Regions from separate parts of the Homo sapiens genome. Here region 1 is linked to region 2. The links are contacts of gene promoters, found by promoter capture Hi-C in blood cells and fetal thymus (Javierre and others, 2016). All regions are on one chromosome and are shown on one strand. Each heading gives the region's core, a stretch centred on a gene start or on the middle of the fragment in contact. The rest is flanking DNA. Distances are from core to core; before and after follow the strand shown.

What was found. The method cuts DNA at HindIII sites, captures the fragments that hold promoters and counts their contacts. A CHiCAGO score of 5 or more calls a contact.
Region 1: a fragment that was not itself captured here is called in contact with the fragment with the promoter of TRPM6 in region 2 in 1 of 17 cell types (neutrophils); the score reaches 6.6 in neutrophils.

What each region holds. Positions count from the first base shown.
Region 1 is chr9:74,770,253-74,774,931 of GRCh38, reverse strand. It overlaps TRPM6 (transient receptor potential cation channel subfamily M member 6), which reads left to right. Exons shown (of 39, transcript NM_017662.5): 25 at 3,097-3,229. Among named protein-coding and RNA genes, the nearest start is that of TRPM6, 120 kb to the left of the region's middle. RefSeq lists an enhancer at 3,708-3,757. The HindIII fragment of the contact is 4,282 bases long and covers 1-4,048 here.
Region 2 is chr9:74,885,566-74,889,903 of GRCh38, reverse strand. TRPM6 (transient receptor potential cation channel subfamily M member 6) reads left to right here and starts at 1,983. Exons shown (of 39, transcript NM_017662.5): 1 at 1,983-2,080. The coding sequence starts at 2,048. RefSeq lists an enhancer at 2,597-2,891. The HindIII fragment of the contact is 4,553 bases long and covers 191-4,338 here.

The DNA.
Region 1 (4,679 bases), core at 658-3,157, 110 kb after region 2:
CTGAAAACTGAAATCCTTTTTTCTTCACAAATTGGGGAAAGACTCATTTGGCCAAAAAAGGCTGATGAGAATTGATGCGAAGCCATTTATTCTCTTTATTTCTTGTAGTATGAATATTCATTGATGTTGGCTGCAGAAAATAGCAATATGTTTGATTTTAGGGATTGCTTTAATCTTAACTAGGGATTTCACTTCATTTATGACATACTCACTATATTAATTTTCTGAAACTAGAAAAAAACAGTTCTGAATTCTAAAATACTCTGGACTCCAGGAGTTTCAGCTAAGGGGATAGCGGGCTATTTATGTGTTTAGGTAGGTCCTTAGGGGGACAGGTCATCCCCTGCAGTATATTATGGGGTTGACAGGGTGATATGCTTTTGCTGGTGGTAGGTGACTCTGTGAAGTATTTTTTCTCCTCCTAAGTCACTTTGAAGATTTTTTTTTCTTTTTCATACCCTGCTCCCTGACCAAGAGATTCAGCCTTTGTACGAAAGCCAAAGCATACCTGAAGTTAACTTGAAGGCTTATAATTATACTGTAAATTTCAGGCCGCTAATAGAGAGACGTCCCAGGCTTTGGCTGCAGAACCATTGCAACCTAATAGCAGAATGTGAATCACTTGATAAATCCTGGAATTGACTAGGATTTGCCCAGACTTCCTAGTACCACATGAAAGAACGTTTCCTGGGTTCACCTTGGTCTGTGCTTATAGGATGATTCATATAAAACTCAAGTAAAGTTTAAAATGAATTCACCCTGAGCTTTGTGGAACATTGTTGAATTTTCATAACATTGCTTCTGATCCTTTATATTGAGGATAAAGACATTTACACAAGGGGCAGCAGTGCCACCTTGCGGACAATTACAGGAAAGCGCCACATACTGCAAGCTGCGCCTGTCATTGGAATTACTCTGGATTGTTTGCTCTCAGGGATCCACATAAGGTTCACATCATGACACCTGTAAAGTTTCTTGCTCATAGGAGATTCTTTAGTGAAAGAAGACATTAGAGTTGGGTAGGGGGTGGGAGATACCGAATCTTTTCAGTGTCTGAAAATTTTTTTCCTGCCATTTAAATCAGAAAGCACTGTATACCTGAGTTGTGAATACATTTTACAGCTGAATAATACTTTTAGCCATGTTTTCAATTTAAAATTCAGATTTTTTGTCATTAATTTTAACAGAAAATAATGTAACAATTGCATTTTAAATAAATTCTGGAGAATTGTATTAGTTCTTTTTCTCCTAATGTAAGCAAAACCATTCAAGAAAGAGAACTTTCCAATTTAATCCTTTTAGCAGCATCACTTCATTATATATTTTCTAAGTATTATAAACTTGCTTAAAAGATGGTATATTATTCTATTAGGCAACAGTGAAAGCCAAGGTAATAGACCAAATGTGAATGCTGGAGTTTGATGAAGAATTGTGTTAGCCTTATAATATCACTTAGTGATGTGTCTTTTTAATGAGTTATTTATAATTGTGTCAGAGAAGGTATACAGCTGTGATTGGCCATTGAATGGTAATAATAACATCTCATTCTTCAGTAGAAGGATTTAGTATGCACAAACTCTGCGTAACAAGGTGAAACTTTCTTATACTTACTGGATTAATTTCAATAGACTGCCTTCTTCTAATCTTGCATTTAACCTATTGGTTATTTACTGTCATTGTAATAGCTAAAAGAGTTGGAAGACAGGTTGATTAATGAGCACAAATATACACTTTGATAGAAGAAATAAGACCTAGTGTTCAATAGATTGGTAGGGTTTTTGTTGTTGTTGTTGTTGTTGTTGTTTGAGATGGAGTCTCGCTCTGTTGCCCAGGCTGGAGTGCAGTGGAGCGATCTCGGCTCACTGTAGCCTCTGCCTCCTGGGTTCAAATGTTTCTCCCACCTCAGCCTCCTGAGTAGCTGGGATTACAGGCATGGACCACCACACCCAGCTAATTTTTTTTGTTTGTTTGTTTTAAGGAGCTGAGAGTTTAATAGGCAAATAAGAAGGAAGAAGCTCCCCGGTACAGAGATAGAGGGAGGGGGGCTCCAAAGCCGAGAGAGGAAACCCCCAATTTTTGTATTTTTACTAGAGGTGGGGTTTCACCATGTTGGCCAGGCTGGTCTTGAACTCCTGATCTCAAGTGATCCACCTGCCTCGGCCTCCCAAAGTGCTGGGATTACAGGTGTGAGCCACCATGCCCTGCCATCAGTAGGTTGACTACAGTTAAAATTAATTGATTATACATTTCAAAATAGCTAGAAGAGAATAATTCAAATGTTTCTATCTTAAAGGACAGGTAAATATTTAAGGAGATCTGCCTCAGCCTCCTGAGTAGCTGTGACTACAGGCTTGTGCCACCAATTGCCCTGATGTGATTATATGAATGTATCAAATTATCACATGTATCTCAAAAATAGGTACATCTAATATGAATCAATTAAAATTTAATTAATTTTAGAAAGTGTTGGCAGAGAGAAAAGAAGACAGATTCCCCATTTTCATATAAACGCAGTGAATTTTTCTTAAATGTGAAAGCATTCTAACCTGTGAAAATATTGAAGAGAAAGAATTCTATATATGAGTCATTTTCAAAGAATGAGTAGGAGAGACCCAGGCTGGTGTTTCCAGTTCTTTCTTTTCTTTTCCTTTTTTGAGACAGGGTCTCGCTTTTTAGCCCATGCTGGAGTGTAGTGGCGTGATCACAGCTCCTGCAGCCTTGACCTCCCAGGCTCAAGCCATCCTTCTGCCTCAGTTTCCTGTGTAGCTGGGACCACAGGCGCCTAGCTAATATTGAAATTTTTTTGTAGAGAGAGGGTCTGCCTGTGTTGCCCAGGCTGGTTTCTAATTCCTGAGCTCAAGCGATCCACCCCTGCTCAGCCTCCAAAAGTGTTGGGATTACAAGCGTGAACCACTGCGCCCAGCTCCCAGTTGTTTATTGGTGCTGTTTCTGCATTAATATTAGAAATAGTTTGACAAGGTGACAAACTTATCACAACAGGCTATAGTTTCTCATTTTCAATACAAGTGGAAGAAAAGCCACTCATGCCCTGAGGTGAATAATGATTCTTTCTGTGTTTCATACTTATTTCTATAGAACTCTACCTCAGTAAGGAGGATCTGAAAAAACTTCATGATTTTGAGGAGCAGTGCGTGGAAAAATACTTCCATGAGAAGATGGAAGATGTGAATTGTAGTTGTGAGGAACGAATCCGAGTGACATCAGAAAGGTAAAAGATATAAATCTTTTCCATTCTGAAACCACTAACACAACGTGATTCTGCTAGAATATCTAAAGGTGTAGAAAGATCTTTCAAATCCCAGAGGTTTGAGTTCTTTATAATTTGAAACATTTAACAACATATAATATTCATGTAATCAAAGTATATTTATTAAGCATCTACTATATTCCAGGCACTCTTTTAGTTACTAGGAATAAGTGGTTAATAAGACATAAGAATCCTTGTCCTCATGGGACTTACATTCATGCGCGCGCGCGTGTGTGTGTGTGCGCATGTGTGTAGGTGGTGAGAGAAATGAAGTGGATGGAGAACAAAACCTAAGTAAGGAACCACAAAAATAGATTTGTAATTTATTATCAGGCAGTAAAAGAGCTATGAAGAAAAATAAAGTAGCTGGAGAGAACAGGAAATGATGGTGGCGTGAAATCTAGCGGAGCTGGGGGTTGAGTGGACTGTTTAGATGGTCTGGTTCTAGAAGGTCGCTCTGAGGGCATTGAGTGGAGGCCTGAAAGAAGTGAGGCAGTGGGCGAGGCAGGGGCGTCTGGTGGAATAGCGCCCCTGGCGGAAGGAACAGCAAGCGCAGCCGCCTGAGGCCACATGGTGTGTCTGGCAGCAGCCAGAGGGGAGGAGGAGGTAGATGGAGGGTGCTGGTTGGATGGGGAGTGGGGTTCTCAGGGCGTCTGACCGGCGGTTGTTGTGCAGTGGAGTTGGCGGCTGCTTCACTGAAGTGGGTGAAGACAGAATAGGAGAAGCAGAGACTGCAATTACAGGTGGCTTTTGGGAGAAGTATTACGGTGCAGGGAAGCTTGGTATGGGGACACGGTAAGGTTTTTTTGTTGGATTTTGCGTAATGTGGCAATAAATAAAACAGCATGGTCCTGAAAATGATCCACCAGCAAGGGAGAAACTCAGGAGTGGAGGGAGGAGGCCATTTGCTGAAGAGAAGTCCCTAAGAAGCTGGGAAAATGGAGGGTCTGGCTTTTTGCCCGAAGCAGGGGAACGGGACAGGATATGGCCAGAGTAGACGGGAAGGCAGACAAGGTTGGTGGGGACCCAGGTCTCGAGGCAGAGTCGTCGGCTGGGTGTGCCTATGTGTGGGATTTTGAGGGAGGCAGGCGGTATGGGGGACATTCAGAAGTTTGAGGAAAGAGGAGGAGACACACTGGAGAGACTGAACATATTAGGAAGCTATAATGTGATCTGAGTTACTGTTGGATTTATTACTAATTGTGGGTGCATGGCATCGTGTGAAAATATGGAAGGCTATATGTGATGAAATGCATTTTTTTAAAACAGAATTGTTCTTGTAAATGGAAGCAAATTGACAGAAGTTAAATGTGTTCCTCTATTTTTGAACATATATGGAACTGACTATGATGTATTATATCTAATTATGCATGTTTTTTTCTGATGTCAAATATCAGGTAGAGAGATGTGA
Region 2 (4,338 bases), core at 734-3,233:
CCCACCCTATAAATCCTGATACAAGAGATCTGGGTAGGGTGGTTGGAGCCTGGGAATCTGCACTTTTGACAAATGCCTCAGATGTTTCTGATACAGCTTGGGAACCAAAGGCAGCTTGTAAACTAGTACATTCAATGCTTTAAGCACTTCACATTGCCCTTGTATTTCAGGCTCTAAATGCCTTGAAGCTTGATCTGAAAAGAATATATGATCATCCTAACATGTAGGTTTACCAAAGATGGTAAACTAGAAGATGGTAGACTTCTTACAAATCTTGAGTTCCAAATGGCTACTCTTCTTGGTGGGTCTGAAGATTTCTGAGAACTCTCTGACCCAGTCACTGTAAGAGACCTAACAAAGAAATTGTATGGAAGACAGAGATCGAGAAGGATTTACTTGCCTTAGAAGAGCTTTCAGAACCTGTTAACTGTTTACAGATTAACGCTTTAAAGAAGATGGGTTAAGGAGAGGAAAGGAGATTAAATGTGTTTATAGAAGAACAACAAATGCCTAGCACTTAGGGAGGCTGAAGTGGGTGGATTGCTTGAGTTCAGAAGTTCGAGACCAGCCTGGGCAACATGGTGAAACTCCGTATCTACAAAAATTACAAAAATTAGCCAGGTGTAGTGGCTTGCACATGTAGTCCTAGCTACTTGCGGGGGCTGAGGCTGGAGGATTGCTTGAGCCCAGGAGGTGGAGGTTGCAGTGAGCCGACATAGTGCCACTGCACTCCAGCCCGGTGACAGAGCGAGACCCTGGCTCAACAACAACAGCAACAACAACAAAAAGAAAAACAACAAAATGCCAATACACATATGAGAGATTACAATTTTCCAATAAACAAAGAAATGCTTATTAAAACCACATTGAGAAATGAGGGGAAAAAACCTGTAAACTGTCTGCAAATGTGAATTCACCAGGCAAAAATTCATAATAAACTAAATGAGTAGGTGTCCCTAATTTTAAGTCGGTTGTCAGGGATGAATGACTAGCATTGTTAATTACACTTGTAATAATGTGAGCATCATTTTGCCTGTGTGCTTTGTGCCACCTCTGCCAACACCCTGGGATCCACCCCAAATCACTGACCACAACCTTAATCAAGACTGCCTAGGCCGGGCATGGTGGCTCACGCCTGTAATCCTAGCACTCTGGAAGGCTGAGGCATGAAGATCGCTTGAGTCCAGAGTTTGAGACCAGCCTGGGCAACATAGTGAGACCCCATTTCTAAAATAAATAAATAAATAAATAAATAAATAAATAAATAAATAAATAAAATTAGCCAGGCACTGTGGTGTGTGCCTGTAGTCCCAACTACTCTCTGGAGCCTGAAGTGGAAGGATCACTTGAGCCTGGGAGGTCAAGGATGCAGTGAGCCATGATCCTGCCACTGCACTCCAGCCTGGGCAACAGAGCAAGACTCCATCTCTAAAAAAAGAAGAAAGAAAGAAAGAGAGAAAGAAAGAAAGAAAGAAAGAAAGAAAGAAAGAAAGAAAGAAAGAAAGAAAGAGAAGATGCCTATCCAGAGGAATCCACCAAAACAAAACAAAACAAACAAAAAAAATGAAAAAAAAACCAGAAATAACAAAACATTTGTATTGTATGTTACACATGAAGCACATTAAGTGATTTCCTTTGTTCATTGTAACCTTGTGAGGGAACTGGATTTTTGTCCCTATTATTCCCATTGCATAGATAAATAAACTGAGGCTTGACATGCCCAATAAGTCACAGGTAGTAAAAGCAGTGCGTTAGCTTAAATCTCTGATCTCCTCACGCCCCACACTGACTCAACAGTAACAATACATTACTACAAAGGATGTCTGTGATGACAGTGGCCATCCCATTTGATCCTCGTTATTCTTCTTTTATCGAAGGAAACTGAGAGTCACCTTCTTTTCTAGGCAGTTAGGTAACTGAAGCCGAAAGGTATTGTGACAGATCCACTGGGCTGTAAAAGGCAGCGTGTGGAGGTGGAGCCCAGAGTTTCTGCCTCCACAGTTAAAAGCTCAGACAGGGCTTTGGGAGCAGGGCCTGCAAATCAAAGATGAAAGAACAACCTGTCTTGGAGCGCTTGCAGGTAAGCTCAGGCTGCTCGACTGGCGGGGAACAAGGACCTTAGGCGATTCGCTAGATCTGCGCCCCCGGCCTTAGATAGAAGTGGGTGGGGCCAGGGACACTACATCTAACGAGGATCTAGAATAGCTAGGATTTATGAAATACCGGCTTTCAAGTTCTCTGGTCTCCACCCAAAGATGATTATCCTATCTAAGGTAGTGTACGCTACTACAGGGCAGGTCCCGCAGCCCCCGTTTCAAGAGCTGGGATGCGGCCATAGCGGAGGTGGTGTCAGAGCGGAAACCTAGCGGGGGTCGGGGGTTCAGCTCGGGGCGGTGGGAAACACCCCGGGAGAGGAGGCAGCTCTGATTCCGCTCCGGGCCGGAGGGAGAGGAGTTCGGAGGTGGCTTGAGCTGAGAATCCGGAGGAGAGAAGGCGCGTTTTGAGCTGCCACGGGCACAGATCTCAGACCCGGACGCTGACTAGCCGGGGGTCGCGGCTTTCCGAGGCGGCTGGAGAAGTGCCCAGACGGCCGTCCCTCCGCGCCCCTGCGCGTCCCCGTGCGCCCAGTGTTCCCCGTGCAGGAGTCCCGGAGCGATGACAGCGCCGGTTACGGTAAACACCCGCCCCGCCGCAGTCCGCTTCCTTCCCCAACGCGGCGCCGCCCGGACTTGCAACCTCAGGAGTCCCCGCTGGCTCCTCTCCACCGCTGGCATATGGCGCAACAGGAAGTTCTGGGGGCTTGGAGAGGGAGGGTGCTCCTGGCTGTTGGGAGAGCACTGGAGACGCTTGGGAGAGTAGTGGAGATCCTGGTAATTTCTTGGTCTCGCCTATTTTGTCTGGACTTTCTCACACTGTGTATGAAAAATAAGTATAATTGAGCACATTGTATTTCAGGAATAGTCCAGGCAGCTTAGCAAACGTTAGCTCATTTCAGCCTGCTCTGATAAGAACATATGCTCTGGAGCCAGGTAGCCTGAATTAGCATCCCAGCTGCATCACTACCTGTGATTTTGGGCGAGTTAACATCTGTTCTTCGGCTTTCTCATCTGGAAAATGGGATAATACGATTTGTAGTTTCAAGATGAATTGAAATGCTACATGCCATTTGCACTTAGAATAATGCCTGACGTATTTAGCAGGTTGTAAGAGTTTGGGATTCTTAACTATTTCATCCTGGCAGTAATCCTATAAAGTCCAAGTATCCTGTCTCTCCCATCTCCACCGGTTTACAGGTGAGGAAAATGAAACCAAAGGAGAAAAGCAGATTTGAGATTTGAACTCAGGTCAGTGCTTTAAGACACGGAGAACATAAAAAAGAAAAAAAAAAAAGAGAAAAAAAGACACTGAGAACATAGATGTTCTAGTCATACACATCATTTGTGATTATTTGTTCTAGGGAGAAATGATCACCTTTAATTGTTAAAGTGGGAAACGAGTTATTCAATTTCTTTCCCCCTGTATACAGATTTTGATGTTTCACTGTCATCTGCTTTGGGTTCTTACAGGACTGATAAAGCGTTAGCTATTTTGGCCAGACTGGAATCTGGGCTTGACTTTAAGAATCTGGTTGTTTCTTATGTTTCCCACCAGGAGTGGTAACCATCTAGGGTAGGAGTTAGCATGAGTTTTGTTTTTTGGGCCAAAACTGGAGACTAGTACCCTTTGGTAGTGTTAAACTTGTCTTGATAGACAAGGGCATGAATAGCATTTGAGATCATTATACCAGAGGTGAAGGGAAAGAATCGTGCAATATGTTGCAATTTGTCACAAATTTTGGTCTTATCTTGCCTATTTACAATTATCTATCATAGTTAATTTTTTGGATAGGACATCTATGCCAAAACTATCAAGCATTTGGTAAATACTGTGCCTGAAATATGGCTTCTCTCTTTTTCCTTCTTTTTCAAATTTCTCACTTTTTATTTTATTTTATTTTTTTGAGACAGAGTCTCGCTGTGTTGCCCAGACTGGTCTTGAACTCCTGGGCTCAAGCAATCCTCTTTGGCCTCCCAAAGTGCCAAGATTACAGGCCTGAGCCACTGTGCCTGGCCTCACTGTGTTTTAAATCATGAGTTTTCAGTATAAACAGCCCAAATAATCTGAGTGATTTTCATTATACTTCTGGTAGAATCAATACCATGCTGGAACTGAAAGTGACCATCCTACCTATAACTCAGTTATTCCTTTGTGACACATCAGAAGTCTACATGGCAACTATTTTCTGTAAAATCCATCACTGTTAGGTAAGATATTATGATGTGAGTCTCACTAGTGCCT